Linked DNA regions of Homo sapiens: regions 1, 2, 4 and 5 are each linked to region 3. The links are contacts of gene promoters, found by promoter capture Hi-C in blood cells and fetal thymus (Javierre and others, 2016). All regions are on one chromosome and are shown on one strand. Each heading gives the region's core, a stretch centred on a gene start or on the middle of the fragment in contact. The rest is flanking DNA. Distances are from core to core; before and after follow the strand shown.

Region 1 (3,779 bases), core at 14-2,513, 480 kb after region 3:
TGACATACTAACAAAGACATCACTAAATCATTAAATCATTTCTATATAGATATTTGTATTTGAGTTCTATGACAGCTTTGTAAACCAAAAATCTCAAAAATCTGTTGTCAATTTAAAAAAAAATTTTGGCCAGGCACAGCGGCTCATGCCTGTAATCCCAGCACTTTGGGAGGCTGAGGCAGATCATGAGATCAGGAGTTCAAGATCAGCCTGACCAATATGGTGAAATCTTGTCTCTACTAAAAGTACAAAAATTAGCTGGGCATGGTGGCACACGCCTGTAGTCCCAGCTACTAGGGAGGCTGAGGCAAAAGAATTGTTTGAACCCAGGAGGCGGAGGTTGCAGTGAGATGAAATCCTGCCACTGCACTACAGCCTGGACAGCAGAGTGAGACTCCATCTCAAAAAAAAAAACATTTTTTTAGAGGCAGTGATCACACTATATTGCCCAAGCTGCACACAAACTCCAGAGCTCAAGCAATCCTCTTGCCTCAGCATCCAAGTAGCTGGGAGTACAGGCATGTACCACCCACCCAGCTAGAATCTTTTTTTTTTTTTTTTTTTTTTGAGATGGAGTCTCGCTCTGTCTCCCAGGCTGGAGTGCAGTGGCACGATCCTGGCTCACTGCAACCTCTGACTTCTGGGTTCAAGCTATTCTCCTACCTCAGCCTCCCGAGGAGCTGGGATTACAGGCACGCACCACCACACCCAGCTAATTTTTGTATTTTTAGTAGAGACAGAGTTTCTCCATGTTGGCCAAGCTGGTCTCAAACTCCTGACCTCAGGTGATCTGCCCGCCTCGGCCTCCCACAGCACTGGGATTACAGGTGTGAGCTACCGCACCTGGCTGAATATTTCATCTACTATCATGAAGATACACATCTCATGATACAATGAAGGCTGTGGAGCTCCTGCAAGCTTTCCTTTTAGCAAGTAGTTAATGTAAAAGTTCCATCTTCTGTAACTTCCCAAAGATCTGAAATCATGACAGATAAGAAATCAGAAGCCCTGAGAAACACTGTACATGCTAGAAGAGAGTATATTCAAAGCAATCATTAGTAGTCAGTGCAAAGATTCCTATAGCTCCACAGATGCTCTTCTAGGATCATGTACAGCAGCAAATAGGAGAGACAGTCAAGAAAGCAAATACCTTAACACATTCAGTGACAACTGTCACCTCGGATTTACTACCTTTTGCAACCTAAGAGGGAAAGTAATCCATATCCGGGGTATTCCTGCCCCTTCCCCCTTTTGCCACCCCTTATTCATTTAATGGATAAATTAAGAGAGTTTGAGCTCTTAGTTCAAGGGGGAACAAACAAGACTTAACCCATCAGCTCTTACTGATGTTCAAAGATAATTTATCTCACTCTCCTCCTCACCTTCAGCACCCGATATGCCTCCTGAAGCACTTGTTGTTTATCAGGCACAAGGTTAATAACACAGTTTGATCTAAAAGAGAACAGATGAAATGTCGAGCAAATCTTCACAACACTCAGAGATCTGCAAATCCTTTCAGACCCTAAAGGTGGTTCCCACCGTTCTGTCAAAGCTACCCCATTCTTACCGCCTCCCTCCTCTCTTTCTAATGCCTTCAACTAAGCTTTTCCCCAAGATCAGAGACAGAGTGCTTAAAATCTCAATAAATTGTTAGCAAGTTTGAATGTGCAGAAAATAACATCAGGCATGATTCTTACTTGTTTCTGTCCTGATGTTCACCATGTAACAAGATGAAACCTCAGACCAGATGCCTACTGCACAAGGCATTTCTTTCTTTTTTTTTTTTTCCCGAGAGGATGTTTCACTCCTGTTGCCCAGGCTGGAGTACAATGGCGCAATCTCGGCTCATTGCAACCTCCGCCTCCCGGGTTCAAGTGATTCTCCTGCCTCAGCCTCCTAAATAGCTGGGATTACAGGCATGTGCCACCACACCCAGCTAATTTTTGTATTTTTAGTAGAGACGGGGTTTCGCCATGTTGTTCAAGCTGGTCTGGAATTCCTGACCTCGTGATCCACCTGCCTCGGCCTCCCAAAATGCTGGGATTATAGGCGTGAGCCACCGCACCTGGCCGGCACAAGGCATTTCTTATGCTTCACGTAAACAGGCTATGTTCCTCAAAGGCAGCTGTCACTTGGGCATGATTTGACAATAACAACTTGAGGGAAAAAAGGAAATAGAATCCTATAATTTACCATGAAAATATTATGAAAGATACAGGTCAGCATGTATTGTAGGAGCAAACTTAGTGGTCCTGCTGGTCTTTTGGGTTCATTGGTTTGTGGTTAAGTTTCAAGTAAGTTCCCTCTTGGTCTGGTGTGTTCTGCTGCTGGTGAGCTCCAGCAGCTCAAACCAGCTCTCTCCCATTAGTAAGCCATGCTAAGTTTAGTTTAACACCCTAAATGAGAGTCAATTCAGCAAACAGTAATAGTGACATCTCTGTGTTCAAAAGGAAATGAGGGCTGAGCACAGTGCCTCACACCTGTAATCCCAGCACTTTGGGAGGTGGAAGCGGGTGGATCACCTGAGATCAGGAGTTTGAGACCAGCCTGGCCAACATGGTGAAACCCTGTCTCTACTAAAAGAAGATTTAAAAAATTAGCTGGATGTGGTAGCGTGTGCCTATAATCCCAGCTACTTGAGAGGCTGAGGCAAGAGAATCAGTTGAACCCGGGAGGCAGAGGTTATCGTGAGCTGACATTGGGCCACTGCACTCTGGCCTGGGTGACAGAGCGAGAGTCCATCTCAATAATAATAATAATAATAATAAAGAAAATGGGCTATAGTCATAACAGTAAGAATATAGACCTACACAACAATATCATGGCTCTCATTCTTGATTCCAGCCTCTCCCAACTTCTCAATGTAGCCATGAATAAAAGTCACATTAGATGCCTGGAAGCCATATTTTTCCATGTGATAGTCAAGATACTTTTCAGCCACTTCCACCTAAAGTAAGAAAAATATAGTTTTGATAACATTTTGAAAAAAATACACAACTTTTTCCTAAAAATTTCCTATCACTAACAGAATATACTTCCCCTAGATTATTTTGGATAAACATACAAGATTCCTGTGGACACGTAGGATATACTACAACCTGGGACATAAACTCCCTGCTGCCCGTGCAGTTTGGCTTGAATAAACTCCTCATTCAATAACAAAATCTTTCAGGATAGATGGCAGCAAGAAGGGAAAGATCAAAGTCCACTCTATCGTCACGATATTCATATCAGAGCAAACCTCCGACTCTTGTGTTCGCCCAGAAGAACCCCTAATTGTTCAAGTTATCAGTTTCCAAGACAGGAAGCACTAGTGGCACAAATGAGCATTGCTAACTAGAAGCTTTCTTAAATTATCCTTGAAGAGCCACGAAGAAAACAACTTTATTTTTCAAATAATGCTTTTGAGAATCTTTTTCTCCTTGTCTTCCAAATCATGCCTCACCTGGCCTTTGGTCATGTCTATTCCAGTCACGTGTCCTTTTTCACCAACCAGCTGGCTAAGTACATAGCAATCTCTGCCACTTCCACTACCCAGATCCAAAATCCAGCAGTTTTCTAGATGCTCAGGGATCACCAGACCACAGCCATAATATCTGGGAAATGGAAAACACATATTTTTTCCCTGGAGACTGTAAGACATGAAACCACTAAATCTTATACATACTTCCCTCCTCCCTCCCTCCCTCCGTTCCTTCCTTCCTTCCTTCTTTCTTGCATCATTCACTCATACTTCTGATGTTTAGTCTCCACTGAACTGGACACCCATGAAGGCTGGG
Region 2 (3,765 bases), core at 1,250-3,749, 400 kb after region 3:
TTTCTTTTTCTTTTTTTTGAGACAGGGTCTCACGTTGTCCAGGCTGGAGTGTACTGGTTTAATCATAGCTCTATACAACCTTGAATTCCTGGGCTTAAGCGATCCTCCAGCCTCAGTGTCATGAGTAGCTGGGAGTGCAGGTGCGCATCACCACACCCGGCTAATTTTTGTAAAGATGGGGTCTCAGCTTTATTGTCCAGGCTGGTCTAGAACTCTTAGCTCCAAGCAATCCTCCCGCCTCAAGCCTCCCAAAGTGCTAAGATTACAGATGTGAGCCACCTCACCCAGGCCTAAATCACCTTCAAAGAAAAATAATAACTGACAAAATATTAATATCATACTAAATAACTACATATTAAAAAATACATGCACAGTTGAAAAATATGGTAAGACTCTGTTTCTCATATTATTTCCACAAGTGAATTAATGTTTAAGGCAATTTTGCTAAACTCCTTATCAGCCTGAAACTGTAACCTTCATAACTTACAAACATTTCATTTTTACCTTAGAAGTTATTTTTCCTCCATCAAATTAATCAACTGAGTATTTTCTAGACATTTTTGCCTGACAACGCCTATGCTCTTGTTCAGGAAATATTACCACATAATGATTAATACCAATATCTGCCTGTGACTAACTCTCGGCCCAAAGTCCTTCCTCTGGGTGCCCATAGCATCCTGCATGTATCTCCACGACAGGAGCTGTCATGCTGGAATCATGTATTTGAGTCTTTTCTCCCCTATTAGATAGTAAGTTCTATAGTGGTCGTGCTTTAGGTATCTTTTATAACTAATAGAGTGCTAGGAACATATCATGGACTCAATAAACCAGTATTATCAAACAGATTGGTAAACTGTGACTTTACTGATAAGCTTATTCACAACCCAATAGTTAGGATGGAGTGTGTCTCCTCATCAGAAGGTAGTAGTGATTTATTTGTTGTTGTTGTTATTATTATTATTGTTATTATTATTATTTGAGATGGAGTTTCACTCTTGTTGCCCAAGCTGGAGTACAGTGGCGCAATCTCGGCTCACTGCAACCTCCGCCCTCCAGATTCAAGCACCTTCCAGATTCCTGCCTCAGCTTCCCTAGTAGCTGGGATTACAGGCACGCGCCACCACGCGCGTATTTTTAGTATTTTCTCAGTAGAGATGGGGTTTCTCCATATTGGCCAGGCTGGTCTCGAACTTCTGACCTCAAGTGATCTGCCTGTCTCGGCCTCCCAAAGTGCTAGAATTACAGGCATGAGCCACTGTGCCCGGCCACTAGATACCATTTAAATCACTACTACCGCCAGGTGTGGTGGCTCATGCCTGTAATCCCAGCACTTTGGGAGGCTGAGGCAGGCGGATTACCTGAGGTCGGGAGTTCAAGATCAGCCTGACCAACATGGAGAAACCCCTTCTCTACTAAAAATACAAAATTAGCCAGGCGTGGTGGCATGTGCCTGTAATCCCAGCTCCTCAGGAGGCTGAGGCAGGAGAATTGCTTGAATCGGGGAGGCGGAGGTTGCGGTGAGCCGAGATCACACCACTGCACTCCAGCCTGGGCAACACAGCAAGACTCCACCTCAAATAAATAAATAAATGGTATCTAGTGAACCTGACAAAGCAATGCTCATTGTCAGATATGAGTCCATTGCCTAAATTTAGCTTTAATGCACAAGAGCTGGACACTGTAGTTGGTGCTGTGTCAGTCAGAGAATACCTAAGTTCTCCAAACTCAAGGTTCTCTCCTAAAAAGGCAGAGTGCCATAAAAGAGAGCAGCGTATGTGAGGTCAGACAGCTTCCAGTGCCAGGTCTACTTCTGCTTACTAACTGCATGATCTTTGACTTTTCGGGCCCCGGTTATGAAGATAATATCTATATTTTGCCTCTCTCTCTCTATCATTGAAAGGGGGGTTGGTAAAGCCTTGTCCTTTTTGGCATCTTCAAATCAATCATCCTCTCCCCATCCCAACCACCCAGCTGTCATCATTTCTTACCAGACTTCTGCAAAGGCCTCCAAATGCCAGTCTCTGTCTCTCCACATCTTTTCTCTCTCCTCATCAAAAGATTTTCCACACAGAAGACCTTTTGAAAATGCAACTCTAATAATGTCATGCTCATGTACCCCCAATACTTCAAGGACATATTGTTGCTCTTAGAAGAAATCCTGGAACCCTTAGTGTGGCCTGCAAGGTCTGCCTGCTGGAGTCCCTGCTTGCTTCTGCTGACTTCGCCAATAGCATCTTGTACCACCCAACCTACCCCTCAACATGCACACACACAAATTATTTGTGTTCCAGCCACACTAATCATCTTTCAGCTCCTTGAGTGTACAATGTTACCTCCCACCTTATCATGTCTCCCTGCAATAGTCTCTTTTCCACACCCAAATTTCCTCTAGTTGACGCCTACTTATCTGTCAGATCTCAAGTCACCCAAAAGCTACTTTCTTCCCTCCCGTCCCACCTGCCAATATTCTCAGGGCACTAAGTACTTCTCCCCCACAGCACATGCAGATGAGTTTATTCGTGTGATGATTTGCTTCATGTCTATCTCCCCCACCAAACTGTCAGCACCAGGAAGACAACAACAATCTTGTTCACCAAAAGACATACAATGTATGTTTCAAGAAAGAAGTGATCTTTTGAAACCTGATAATAGAAAATTACAAGATGAATGTTTTTACCTGTGTGGGGTTTTTGTTTGTGTTTGTTTTTTTGTTTTTTGAGAGGGAGTCTCGCTCTATCCCCAGGCTGGAGTGTAGTGGTGCAATCTCGGCTCACTGCAAGCTCCACCTCCCGGGTTCACGCCATTCTCCTGCCCCAGCCTCCTGAGTAGCTGGGACTACAGGTGCCTGCCACCACGCCCGGCTAATTTTTTTTTGTATTTTTAGTAAAGACAGGGTTTCACCGTGTTAGCCAGATGGTCTCGATCTCCTGACCTCGTGATTTGCCCGCCTTGGCCTCCCAAAGTGCTAGGATTACAGGCATGAGCCACCGCGCCTGGCCTGTTTGTTTGTTTTTGAGACAGAGTCTCAGTCTGTCAACCAGGCTGGATGGAGTGCAGTGGCGCAAACTCAGCTCACTGCAACCTCCATCTCCCAGACTCAAGTGATTCTCCTGCCTCAGCCTCCCAAGTAGCTGGGATTACAGGCGTGCACCACTACGCCCAGCTAATTTTTGTATTTTTAGTAGAGACAGGGTTTCACCATTGGCCAGGCTAATCTCAAACTCCTGACCTCATGTGATCTGCCCACCTCGGCCTCCCAAAGTGTTGGAATTACAGGCGCGAGCCACTGTGCTCAGCAGTCAGTGGTTTTTTTTCTTCATTTTTCTTCACTTTATAAGTATTTCCAAATATTTTTAAAATTCTAGCCAATATATAACATCATCACAATGAAAAACACTAGAAGACGCATACATCTTTCTAAAACAGAAACAAAGTCGTTTCAAATTAGAAACTTCTGCTTGCCTGAACTTATTCACAGCTTTAGAACAGTGTGAAACATGACTATTAAATATAAAACTGAACCCTTTATAGGGTTATTTTAAAACCCAGGGAACTATAAAAGGATTATAGTACCTATGAAGCAGTAGGAAAATGATTAAAATGTATGCCAGGGAAGGGATTACAAAACATATGACTGGAGAATTTATGGCAGTGGGGTTAGTAACTATAAACTAGTTCAGAGTAAGTTAGTATTTATGAGAAAAAAAATCAGTTCTTCAATGGTTCACATGTCCTATCTCATCAACATTTACTCTGAGTAAAAAG
Region 3 (3,322 bases), core at 456-2,955:
TCCCAAAGCATTGGGATTACAGGCATGAGCCACCTCGCTTGGCCATATTTTTAAAATTTATTTTTTTTTTGAGATGGAGTCTTGCTCTTGTTGCCCAGGCTGGAGTGCAGTGGTGTGATCTCGGCTCACCGCAACCTCCACCTCGTCTGTGTTCAAGTGATTCTCCTGCCTCAGCCTCTCGAGTAGCTGGGATTACAGGCATGCGCCACCATGCCCGGCTAATTTTGTATTTTTAGTAGAGATGGGGTTTCTCCATGTTGGTCAGGCTGGTCTCTAACTCCCAACCTCAGGCAATCCGCTTGCCTCAGCCTCCCAAAGTGCTGGGATTACAGGCGGGAGCCACTGTGCCTGGTCACATTCAGCTCTTAAATGTGACTTTGCCAGGCATTATTTGATTAGGAGCATTTGACTTCCCGAATCTTTCTTGCAGGCATCGTGACATTAGCTGGCATTATCTTAGCAAGGATAATGGTTTTTTTGTTTTTTGTTTTGTTTTGTTTTGTTTTGTTTTGTTTTGAGATGGAGTCTCACTCTGTAGCCCAGGCTGGAGTGCAGTGGCACGATCTTAGCTCACTGCAAGCTCCGCCTCCTGGGCTCAAGTGATTCTTCTGCCTTAGCCTCCCAAGTAGCTGGGATTACAGGCACGCGCCACCATGCCCAGCTAATTTTTGTATTTTTAGTAGAGACGGGGTTTCACCATGTTGGCTAGGCTGGTCTTGAACTCCTGACCTCATGATCTGCGCGCCTCGGCCTCCCAAAGTGCTGGGATTACAGGTGTGAGCCACCGCGCCCGGACTAGCAAGAATAATGTTAAGCCAACTCCAAACCTCTCTTAATAAAATTGGGCAATGGGGTGGGTTGTACCTGGGTGGGTCTGAGTTTCTGCTACAGTAGGCCCTCAATAAATGTTTGTTGGGCCCGGCGCCCTGGCTCAGGCCTGTAACCCAACACTTTGGGAGGCTGAGGCGGGTGGATCACCTGAGATCAGAAGTTTGAGACTAGCCTGGTCAACATGGTGAAACCCTGTCTCTACTGAAAATACAAAAGTTAGCTGGGCGTGGTGGCAGGCGCCAGTAGTCCCAGCTGCTTGGGAGCCTGAGGCAGAATCGCTTGGACCCGGGAGGCGGAGGTTGCAAGTGAGCGCCACTGCACTCCTGCCTGAGCGACAAGAGCGAAACTGTCTCAAAAAAAAAAAAAAAAAGCTTTTCGAATTCAATATAATGGGCTTTATGGGATGGGGTGACATGGATGATCTTTGAGTAGTGATTAGATTTTCACCTTGTATCAATACACTATATAATTCCTTAAAATAAATAAACGTACATACTTCAGAACAGGAACTTTATACTTCCTAAGGGAAATAATCTTGGATGGAGGTGATTTGCCACAGAGGAAATGCATAATTGGTACTCAAGTGGAAATGATTATTATTTGTGATGCAACGTCACATGCTACCTAGTTCAGTGCTCTGTGAATTAGGTGATGCAAACAGAATATTGTTGCTTGGAACGGTAGCAATTTTGCTGTTTTTAAAAGGCGGCGAAGAGAGCGTCCCCTTCCAAGGAGAAAATCTGGTGAGATTCCTTTAAAGTGCGGCCCGCGCGCCCCGCAGCCTGCCCCGGAGCTGCAGGGTTTGCGCCCCGCGGAGGTGAGGGCCGCTAAACCACATTTCCCGGCGAGCCCCTCAGGCTGCCGCGCCTGCGCAGTGGTGGCGTCCGAGGCCGGCCGAACTCCCGCGCTCTCCCGCCGCCTCGCCTCGCCTGGTGTCTCTCCCGACCATGGAGGGGGTCGCGGTGGTGACGGCGGGCAGCGTAGGCGCTGCCAAAACCGAGGGAGCTGCAGCCTTGCCGCCTCCGCCTCCTGTCTCCCCGCCCGCCCTCACCCCTGCACCCGCAGCGGGTGAGGAGGGACCGGCGCCTCTGTCTGAGACGGGGGCTCCCGGCTGCTCCGGCTCCCGGCCCCCTGAGCTGGAGCCGGAGCGCAGCCTGGGCCGCTTCAGAGGCCGCTTCGAGGACGAGGACGAGGAGTTGGAAGAAGAAGAGGAGCTGGAGGAGGAAGAAGAGGAGGAGGAGGAGGACATGAGTCACTTCTCGTTGAGGCTGGAGGGAGGCCGGCAGGACTCGGAGGACGAGGAGGAGGTATTTAGAGCCCCCGCGCGACCCCGCTGGGCCCAAGCGGCGTCAGGGACGTAGCTGGCCCTCGTCTGCCGGGCGCCGGCCCGATCCTAGTGCGCCGCCGCCGCGCGGAGCACTGGAGCGGACCTCCCCCGACCTCTGCCCCGGCTGCCTAGGCGTGTGGCGCCGACAGGCCTCCGGCCCGGCCTGGGTCTTTACCCGCTTATTTTGTGAAGTTCTTGCAGGTCACTTAGGCTCTGCGAGTCCAACTCATTCGTTCTGTTAATAATTATAATTATTTTGAGACAGGGTCTCCCAGGCTGGAGTGCAGTGGCGCGACCATGGCTCACTGCAGCCTCCAACTCCTGGCCTCAGGCGATCCTCCCGCCTCAGCCTCCGGAGTAGCTGGGACTACAGGCACGCGCCACCACGCCGGGCTAATTAAACATTTTTTTTTTTTTTTGTAGCGAGGAGGGCTCCCTATGTTCCCAGGCTGTTCTCGAACTCCTGGGTTCAAGAGATTCTCCCTCTCTGGCCTTCCGAAAGATTACATGCGTGAGCCACGTTGCCTGTCCTGTATAATTATTGAAGCTACTGCTTACTAGGCAGTAAAGATCCTTTTGTTTTGTTTTGTTTTGTTTTGTTTTTGAGACGGAGTCTCGCTCTGTCGCCCAGGCTGGAGTGCAGTGGCGCGATCTCGGCTCACTGCAACCTCCGCCTCCCAGGTTCAAGCGATTCTCCAGCCTCAGCCTTTAGAGTAGCTGGGACTACAAGGCGCCCGCCACCACGCCCGGCTTATTTTTTGTATTTTTAGTAGAGACGGGGTTTCACCGTGTTAGCCAGGATGGTCTCGATCTCCTGACCTCGTGATCCGCCCGCCTCGGCCTCCCAAAGTGCTGGGATTACAGGCGTGAGCCACTGCGCCCAGCGTAAAGATCCTTTTGAAACAATAATTTGGCTGGGCGCGGTGTGGCTCACGCCTATAATCCCCGCACTTTGGGAGGCCGAGGCAGGCGAAACACGAGGTCAGGAGTTCAGCCTGACCAAAGCGGTGAAACCCCTTCTCTACTGAAAATACAAAAAGTAGCGGGGCGTGGTGGCACGCGCCTGTAATCTCAGCTACTCAGGAGGCTGAGGTAGGAGAATCACTTGAATCTGGGAGGCGGAGGTTGCAGTGAGCCGAGATCTTGCCGCTGCACTCCAGTCTG
Region 4 (3,724 bases), core at 908-3,407, 360 kb after region 3:
TGTATAAGATTCTTAAAATGACATGTCAAAACTTTGAGAATCCCAGACCTATAGAATTTCTTTGTGGTCAAACGAAAGCACTTTTGTAGTATCTGTGTCACTTTCATTTGCACCTGTGAGCATTCACAGGTTTCAGTCTAAAACGTATTAACACCCCTGACTACAGTAAGGGTCTTGAGACCCTATCTTTGTCCCACGCCTTTTCAATATTTCTATTATTATTTTTTTGAAACAGCCTCGCTCTGTTGCCCAGGCTGGAATGCACTAGGTGCAATCCCGGCTCACTGCAACCTCCGCCTCCCAGGTTCAAGTGATTCTCCTGCCTCAGCCTCCCAAGTAGCTGGGATTACAGGCGCCCACCACCACTCCCGGCTAAGTTTTTTTGTATTTTTAATAGAGACGGGGTTTCACCAGGTTACCGAGGCTGGTCTCAAACTCCTGACCTCAGGTGATCCACCCGCCTCGGCCTCCCAAAGTGCTGGGATTACAGGCATGAGCCACCATGCCCGGCCTTTTCAATATTTCTAAATCAATTAAGTAGCGTGGTGCATACAGCTGATTAACAGGTCTCCAGAATTATCTGCTGCCACAGTTCAGGTCTTCACATTGAGGCCTCAGAGAGAAGACAGTGGACTCTGACCTTTGGCTCTGGTCTCATTATCTTTGGAACCTTAATTTCCAAAGGAAAATAGTGATAATTCCTGCCCCACATTTCACACAACTGTTGGGGGTGACAATCTTGAACCAAAGATGTAGGGTGTTTTATTTTTGTTAGAGCAGAGGTTGCAAACCATTTTTGACTATGTATTCTATGAAAATGTTGAGTACACCTCCCTAATTTATATTTACTTATAAATTATATATATTACAAAATATATACATCATGAAATCCATATAAAAATAAGCTTGGCCGGGCGCAGTGGCTCAAGCCTGTAATCCCAGCACTTTGGGAGGCCGAGGCGGGCAGATCACGAGGTCAGCAGTTCGAGACCATCCTCGCCAACATGGTGAAACCCCACCTCTACTAAAAATACAAAAAAATTAGCCAGGCGTGGTGGTGGGCACCTGTGGTCCCAGCTACTCAGGAGGCTGGGGCAGGAGAATGGCGTGAACCTGGGAGGCGGAGCTTGCAGTGAGCCGAGATCACGCCACTGCACTCCAGTCTGGGTGACAGAGCGAGACTCCGTCTCAAAATAATAATAATAATAATAAGCTTAATGTATATGCATATTCATTCATATATATATATGTAAGTCCTACTGCATCCCAAGGCACAGCTACATGCAATTTACCTTGAGGACTACCGCTTTAGAATATATCATTTTCTTTATGGTTCTCTAATTTCTTCTTCTTCCTTCAAACTCTCCACCCTCAGCCTTTGTACCCTAAACCCTCTGGTTTTCTTCCTCTGAACATTCTCCTTCAGCAGTTTACTTCCTGCTTCCATCTTTTAAATTTGAGCTTTCATATTAGGTTTTCTGCTCTTCTGGGGACACCCTCCCTTGGCAATGTTGTCTTACTAACCATCAGCAGAAATCTGTGCTTGTTCCTTCTGTGTTCATCTGCAACTACTGAAATTTATACTTGAATCAAAATATCTCACTATTAGCAAATCACCTAGCCCACCCTACCCATATGTCAACACTTACACAAAATCCCTATTATTGCTTATCCAGCTTCTGCTGAATCACCACCTCTAGTAATATAATTCTACGATCTGGAGGATAAAAACTTTTTTTTTTTTTTTTTGAGACTGAGTCTTGCACTGTCACCCCGGCTGGAGTGCAGTGGCGCAATCTCGGGTCACTGCAAGCTCCGCCTCCCAGGTTCACAGCATTCTCCTGCCTCAGCCTCCCAAGTAGCTGGGACTACAGGTACCTGCCACCATGCCCAGCTGACTTTTTTTTTTAAGTAGAGACATGGTTTCATCGTGTTAGCCAGGATGGTCTCAATCTCTTGACCTCGTGATCCGCCCACCTCGGCCTCCCAAAGTACTGGTATTACAGGCGTGAGCCACCGCGCCCAGCCACAGGACATTTTCAAATGGCTCTACTTTTTGGAAATTCTACTTTGATTAAGCTGAAACTAACTTCCCTATAACTTTCACATTAATTCCAGTTTGGCTTCTGAGGCTTTACAAATGGTCCATCACCACCCATACTCGGGAGAATCACTTGAACCCGGGAGGCAGAGGTTGCAGTGAGCCGAGATCACACCACTGCACTCCAGCCTGGGTGACAGAGTGAGACCGCCTCAAAAAAATAAGATAGAAGTAAGGACAAGATCACACAATTATATTTCAGTTATAATCTAGGCTTAGATTGTCAAATATCTAGTTGTAGAGTGAGCACTACCCTAAGCCTTTTACACACTCAAGTCTAAATCACATGCATTATCTTTGTAATCTTAAAATTTAGTCACATGATGACTTTCTCTAAGTAAAACAGGGCAAGTGAACATCGGAGCTAGTCCAAGCCCTATAAACCAAAACAGGTACTGAACATGACAGGTACATCAGGGCAAGCACAGACATGGTCTGGAGGTAAGGTGCAATCACTTTGGCACCAAGCTAACAGGTAAACAGATAACACTAGATATTTAAAAAACTTGTGGGTCTCCAAGCTGATGGATAATACTCTGAAGTCTGAACATGCCAACCATTTAGGAGACATCACTCCTCAGTTGGCAGGGCCCATTCACTTTGTTTAGAAGGCCCCCCTTTCCCAATCCTTTTACTAGTCCCTTGAACAGCTGTCATTAAATGATTACACTGTTGCTAAAAGACAGCTATTCTATCAATCTGAGCTGGTCATGTAAACAAAACAAATATTCTGCTGTAGAATAAGGCATAAAGTACTTATCTAGCCCCTAGGAACTTCCCAGGTAACTCAAGTTGTCTGGCCACGCAGTTTGGAGACTTGATGGCTAGAAAGAACATGACTAAGAGTAGCCAGTAGGATGTCAAGGAAGAACCTGAAGGAGAACATAAGTGAGACAGGGTCTGCTGGTTAGTTTAGAGCCATTCCCTTGGAAGAAAGGGACCATAAACACTTCCTGTATCTAGCTTTGATGAGGAGGAGCTTGGTATGTAAAGAAGCTTTCAGAGTTCTCAATGATGTTGACACAGAAATTCTCTCAGCCCCTTTGCCGGACTCACAGCAGAATTTTAAAATTTTAAAATTCTTTTTAAAGAATTTTGGCTATATCAGACAAAATAGGAATATACAGAGGAGGACTGCTAATTACATGAAACAAGAGGGTGAGAAGGGGAAAAACTTGTTTCAGATGGAAAGGATCCGCTATTCAAATTGTTTTAGAAAAAAAAGATAAAACAATCTGCAGCAATTTAGAATTCTCAAGGTCTGCCAGGGTTTCCTACACAAAGCAGGAATTTTGCCCAACTGCTGCAGAAAGTTAAAAAGAAAAAAAAGACTTTCCCTTCGTTATTTCCTTTTCATGTTAGAAAATATTAGCAAAATTCATCGCTTCTCGGCCTTTTGGCTAAGATCAAGTGTAGAAAATATTAGCAAAATTCAGTCTTTTTTTCTGTCCTTAACAAACTGACATTTAAAATAAGAGTAAAGCCCGGGCACAGTGGTCAAGCCTATAATCCCAGCCCTTTGGGAGGCTGAGGTGGGTGGATCATTTGAGGTCAGGAGTTAGAGACCAGCCTGGCCAACATGGTGAAACACCACCTCTACTAAAAATACAAAAATTAGCCAGG
Region 5 (3,494 bases), core at 383-2,882, 280 kb after region 3:
CACTTAAATTCCATGGGATTTTTCTCCTGTCTTGGAAAAGCAGTTTGAAGAAAGTCTCCTTCCATTAAAATAAAGTTCCCCTCTCCTCCCCCTAAGATTTTCCCTTTTCTTCACTTTCGCTAACTTGTCGACAACTTCTTCTTTACCTTGATGAGTTCTTTTGGGATAGAGTGTCTTATTCATCCCTGGAACCCCAGGGTCCACTATAATCCCTGCATGGTAGGTGCTCATTGTGTTTTCTGGGCTACTGAAATGCTCTAAGTCAGTTTCACTTCTAGTTTCTCAGGCCAAGGGTCAGAAATGCTCTTGTTCCCATTACTACAACTGTGTGAGGCATCCTTTACAATGGGTGAACAAAAATTAAGATGCCATGTATTGAAAAGGAATTGTGCTAACACATCAGTGTTTTATGAATTCATTTAATGTGCACAACTCGATGCAGCAGACAAATCATTGCCCTCCTACAAATCAGGGGAGGGGGGATCAGCAAGATTTAGTAAAGAACAAGCTCTTCATCAGGATGCTAGGAGGCTGGGAGCAGTGGCTCATACCTGTAACCTCAGCACTTTGGGAGACCGAGGCAGGCAAATTGCTTGAGCCCAGGAGTTCAAGATCAGCCTGGGCAACACAGCAAGACCCCATCTCTACAAAAATTAGCCAGGCATGGTGGCGTGCACCTGTAGTCTCAGCTACTTGGGAGGATTACTTGAACCTGTGAGGCAGTGAGCCATGATCACGCCACTGCACTCCAGCCCAGGCCACAGAATGAGACCCTGTCTCAAAGAAAAAAAAAAAAAAAAGATGCTATGCCACCTGATGCAAACTATCATTTTATATTAAGTTTCCAATTACAAAAGGTCTTTCTTGGGCCATAGCTTCAGGAGAAGAACTACTGCCTCTCAGGTTTTCCTGCTCAACAGAAATGACAGTTCACCAGTCCCTAGCCAATTATCTTGCCGTATAAACTTACAACTCCACCCATGATATAAAATCCACCTGCAAATGGGCAGGTGCTACAAACCTTCCCCACACAGGCAGGGCCCTAGAGATGACACTGTGGAGTCGGAGATGACAGCCGTCATCCCCCACGGGCTGACCATGCAGCAGGGACAGGCGAGCACATGAGAAGCAACAGCCCACATGGCACACAAGAGCTCAGCATGAGGAAAAAGACATTGGGAACAGAAGCTCCCAGAAAAATCTTACTTCTTGTTCTTATATAAAGACAAATCGCATACAGGAAGGAAAAGCTGTGGATGACCAAGAGAAAGGGACAGCATGAGGGAGGCCCAGGGTGGCGGCAGCGGCCGGCCAGGCTCTGTGTTTGCAGGGAGGAGTGAGGGCACATCTGGAAGGCAGCTGGGTGAGCAGATCCCCAGGCAATGGGCTGGCAGGGTTGGGTCCTGGGTGGAGGAACAGAGTCTGCTTCCACGAGGGTGGCAGCCACAGGCCTGGGGAGGGAGTGCGGTAGAGAAGCTATTGATAAGGGACCAGCATGATTCGAAGAAGCCATCAGGGAGACAGGAGTATAGGAACCAGAGGCCCATTGGGAGGGGCTGAGGAACAGGGACACCACGAGTGGGAGAAAGAAGGTCTGGAGAGAGGTCAGGGCTGGAGATGGGGACCTGAGACAGGAAAAGGACCGAAGCTCAGCCCGTGACTGAGAGCAGCAGGGAAAACTGAAACCATAACAGGACCATGGCAGAGCCTGAAAAGGGAGGCCCAGACCACGGCACCATGGCAGAAGAGCAGGGGTCAGGAGAATTCCAGGGGCAAGGACGGTCAGGGCCTCAAGGTGCTCAAGGCCGCCGGGAGCAATCACTGACCACAGGCCGCTGGGGGCTGCAGGAGGCTTTCCTACCCTACAGAGGAATCAGTGGGAGGACAGTGGCCCCGGCAGGAGAGGGACAGGCAGCAGGACATCCCCATCTGTGGGGCCATGGGAAGGCTGTTGAAAATTCAGGACTCTGGGTGCTGGGGAAGTCCCTGAAGTAGGGTCCCTTCAAAGAGGAGGGGAGGAACAAGGTTCAGAGATAGCAACACACACAGGAGTAGCCACGGTACATGTCTCCCCAATTCCGTGTCCATCTCTTCCTGAACTGACATGTATGTGCTGGCTGCAAATGTCTGCTTTGTAGTTTGTAACCTCAAGAGTGGCTGCGTGACCAGCTCTGAGCCTGACCCTCCATGCAGGAAATCAGGAGGAAGAGTCAAATGCAGTGGAGCCTCATGGTGACTTCCGTTCCTGGGTGTCTCCAGTTATCTGGAGCATTTGTTGTACAAGTTACAGGGCCTTTTGTGTTGTGTCCCTGCAGACAGATGCCAGGTCACTATTCTTTGGAGATAAAACTGTCAGGACTAGTAGGGCAGGCACAACCAAAACAAGACTGTAAAACAGAAAACTGTACATCTTTTTTTCTATTTAATCCATAGGTTCACACCATCTGTCTCTTGGAAGCGTGCGGTGGTTCCACTCTGAGGCCTGAAGCTCTGCCTTGCACACTCAAAGCAGAGATTCCCAGATTACCGACTCTGGCTCCGGCCCTCGGGCATTCTCATTTAACAATATAGGTGAATCTGGGCATCAGGATTTTATTTAAAAAGATTTCCGGGTGATTCTAGCAAGCCACAAACTTTGGGAATCATTGCTTTAAGGCTCTGTCTGTGAACAATGGCCCCAGCCCTGGAAACTGTGTGCCCTGGCCTCTCAAGGGACTCCCTCAAAGGCAGTGTAGCTGAGTCAACTGATTAAGCAAGGGCGGCTGCAAGACTCAAAACTCCAGACCACTGCCATTCCAGCTGATGCTTCCTCTGTCCTTCCAGACAGGATCCCAGGCAGGGGAGGATCTGCCATCTTCCCTCTGGACTCCATCTAGTTGAGATTCACTGCTGCGGGGTGGATATGCTAAGCTCAGTGATTCCTAGACATTTCCATCCTAACGGCCAGTAAGACGCACCTCTACAGAGACAGATACAGGGAAAGATACGGGGTTGCCAAATTTTTTTTTCATAAAGATGGTTTTAAAATTTATTTTTTCAGACAGGGTCTTACTCTGTCACCCAGGCTGGAGTGCAGTGGTGCAATCATGGCTCACCGCACCGGTGGTGAGAATCCTGCAGCCTTGAACTCCTGAGCTCAAGCAACACTTGTAACTCAGCCTCCTGAGTAGCTGGCACTACAGGTGTGCACCACCATGCCCAGCTAATTTTTCTATTTTTTTATAGAGACGGGGTCTCACTATGTTTCCCAGGCTGGTCTTGAACTCCTGGCTGATCCTCCCTCCTCAGTCTCCCAAAGTGTTGGGATTACAGGCATGAGCCACCGTGCCAGGGCAAAATAAAGGTATTTATTTTAAAAAACACAACTATTGCCAGGCACAGTAGCTCACACCTGTAATCCCAGTTACTGGGGAGGCTGAGGCAGGAGGATTGCTTGAGGTCAGGAGCTCAAGACTAGCCTGGGCGAAATAGTGAGGCACTGTCTCAAAACAAAA

The links. The method cuts DNA at HindIII sites, captures the fragments that hold promoters and counts their contacts. A CHiCAGO score of 5 or more calls a contact.
Region 1: a fragment that was not itself captured here is called in contact with the fragment with the promoter of PCGF6 in region 3 in 5 of 17 cell types (endothelial precursors, M0 macrophages, naive B cells and 2 more); the score reaches 7.2 in endothelial precursors.
Region 2: a fragment that was not itself captured here is called in contact with the fragment with the promoter of PCGF6 in region 3 in 1 of 17 cell types (endothelial precursors); the score reaches 6.1 in endothelial precursors.
Region 4: a contact is called between a fragment that was not itself captured here and the fragment with the promoter of PCGF6 in region 3, in 1 of 17 cell types (endothelial precursors). The highest score is 5.2, in endothelial precursors.
Region 5: a fragment that was not itself captured here is called in contact with the fragment with the promoter of PCGF6 in region 3 in 1 of 17 cell types (endothelial precursors); the score reaches 5.5 in endothelial precursors.

The regions. Positions count from the first base shown.
Region 1 is chr10:102,872,265-102,876,043 of GRCh38, reverse strand. AS3MT (arsenite methyltransferase) reads right to left here. Exons shown (of 11, transcript NM_020682.4): 4 at 3,446-3,596; 5 at 2,811-2,947; 6 at 1,383-1,452. BORCS7-ASMT (BORCS7-ASMT readthrough (NMD candidate)) reads right to left here. Exons shown (of 15, transcript NR_037644.1): 8 at 3,446-3,596; 9 at 2,811-2,947; 10 at 1,383-1,452. Among named protein-coding and RNA genes, the nearest start is that of AS3MT, 4.7 kb to the right of the region's middle. The HindIII fragment of the contact is 685 bases long and covers 921-1,605 here.
Region 2 is chr10:102,947,004-102,950,768 of GRCh38, reverse strand. The region is part of intron 1 of CNNM2 (cyclin and CBS domain divalent metal cation transport mediator 2); the gene reads right to left. Among named protein-coding and RNA genes, the nearest start is that of CNNM2, 31 kb to the right of the region's middle. The HindIII fragment of the contact is 3,249 bases long and covers 875-3,765 here.
Region 3 is chr10:103,349,523-103,352,844 of GRCh38, reverse strand. PCGF6 (polycomb group ring finger 6) reads left to right here and starts at 1,705. Exons shown (of 10, transcript NM_001011663.2): 1 at 1,705-2,138. The coding sequence starts at 1,779. RefSeq lists a silencer at 1,577-1,806 and an enhancer at 1,972-2,477. The HindIII fragment of the contact is 2,980 bases long and covers 1,205-3,322 here.
Region 4 is chr10:102,984,805-102,988,528 of GRCh38, reverse strand. The region is part of intron 1 of CNNM2 (cyclin and CBS domain divalent metal cation transport mediator 2); the gene reads right to left. Among named protein-coding and RNA genes, the nearest start is that of CNNM2, 68 kb to the right of the region's middle. The HindIII fragment of the contact is 1,884 bases long and covers 1,216-3,099 here.
Region 5 is chr10:103,064,403-103,067,896 of GRCh38, reverse strand. The region is part of intron 4 of CNNM2 (cyclin and CBS domain divalent metal cation transport mediator 2); the gene reads right to left. Among named protein-coding and RNA genes, the nearest start is that of NT5C2, 130 kb to the left of the region's middle. The HindIII fragment of the contact is 4,469 bases long and covers 1-3,494 here.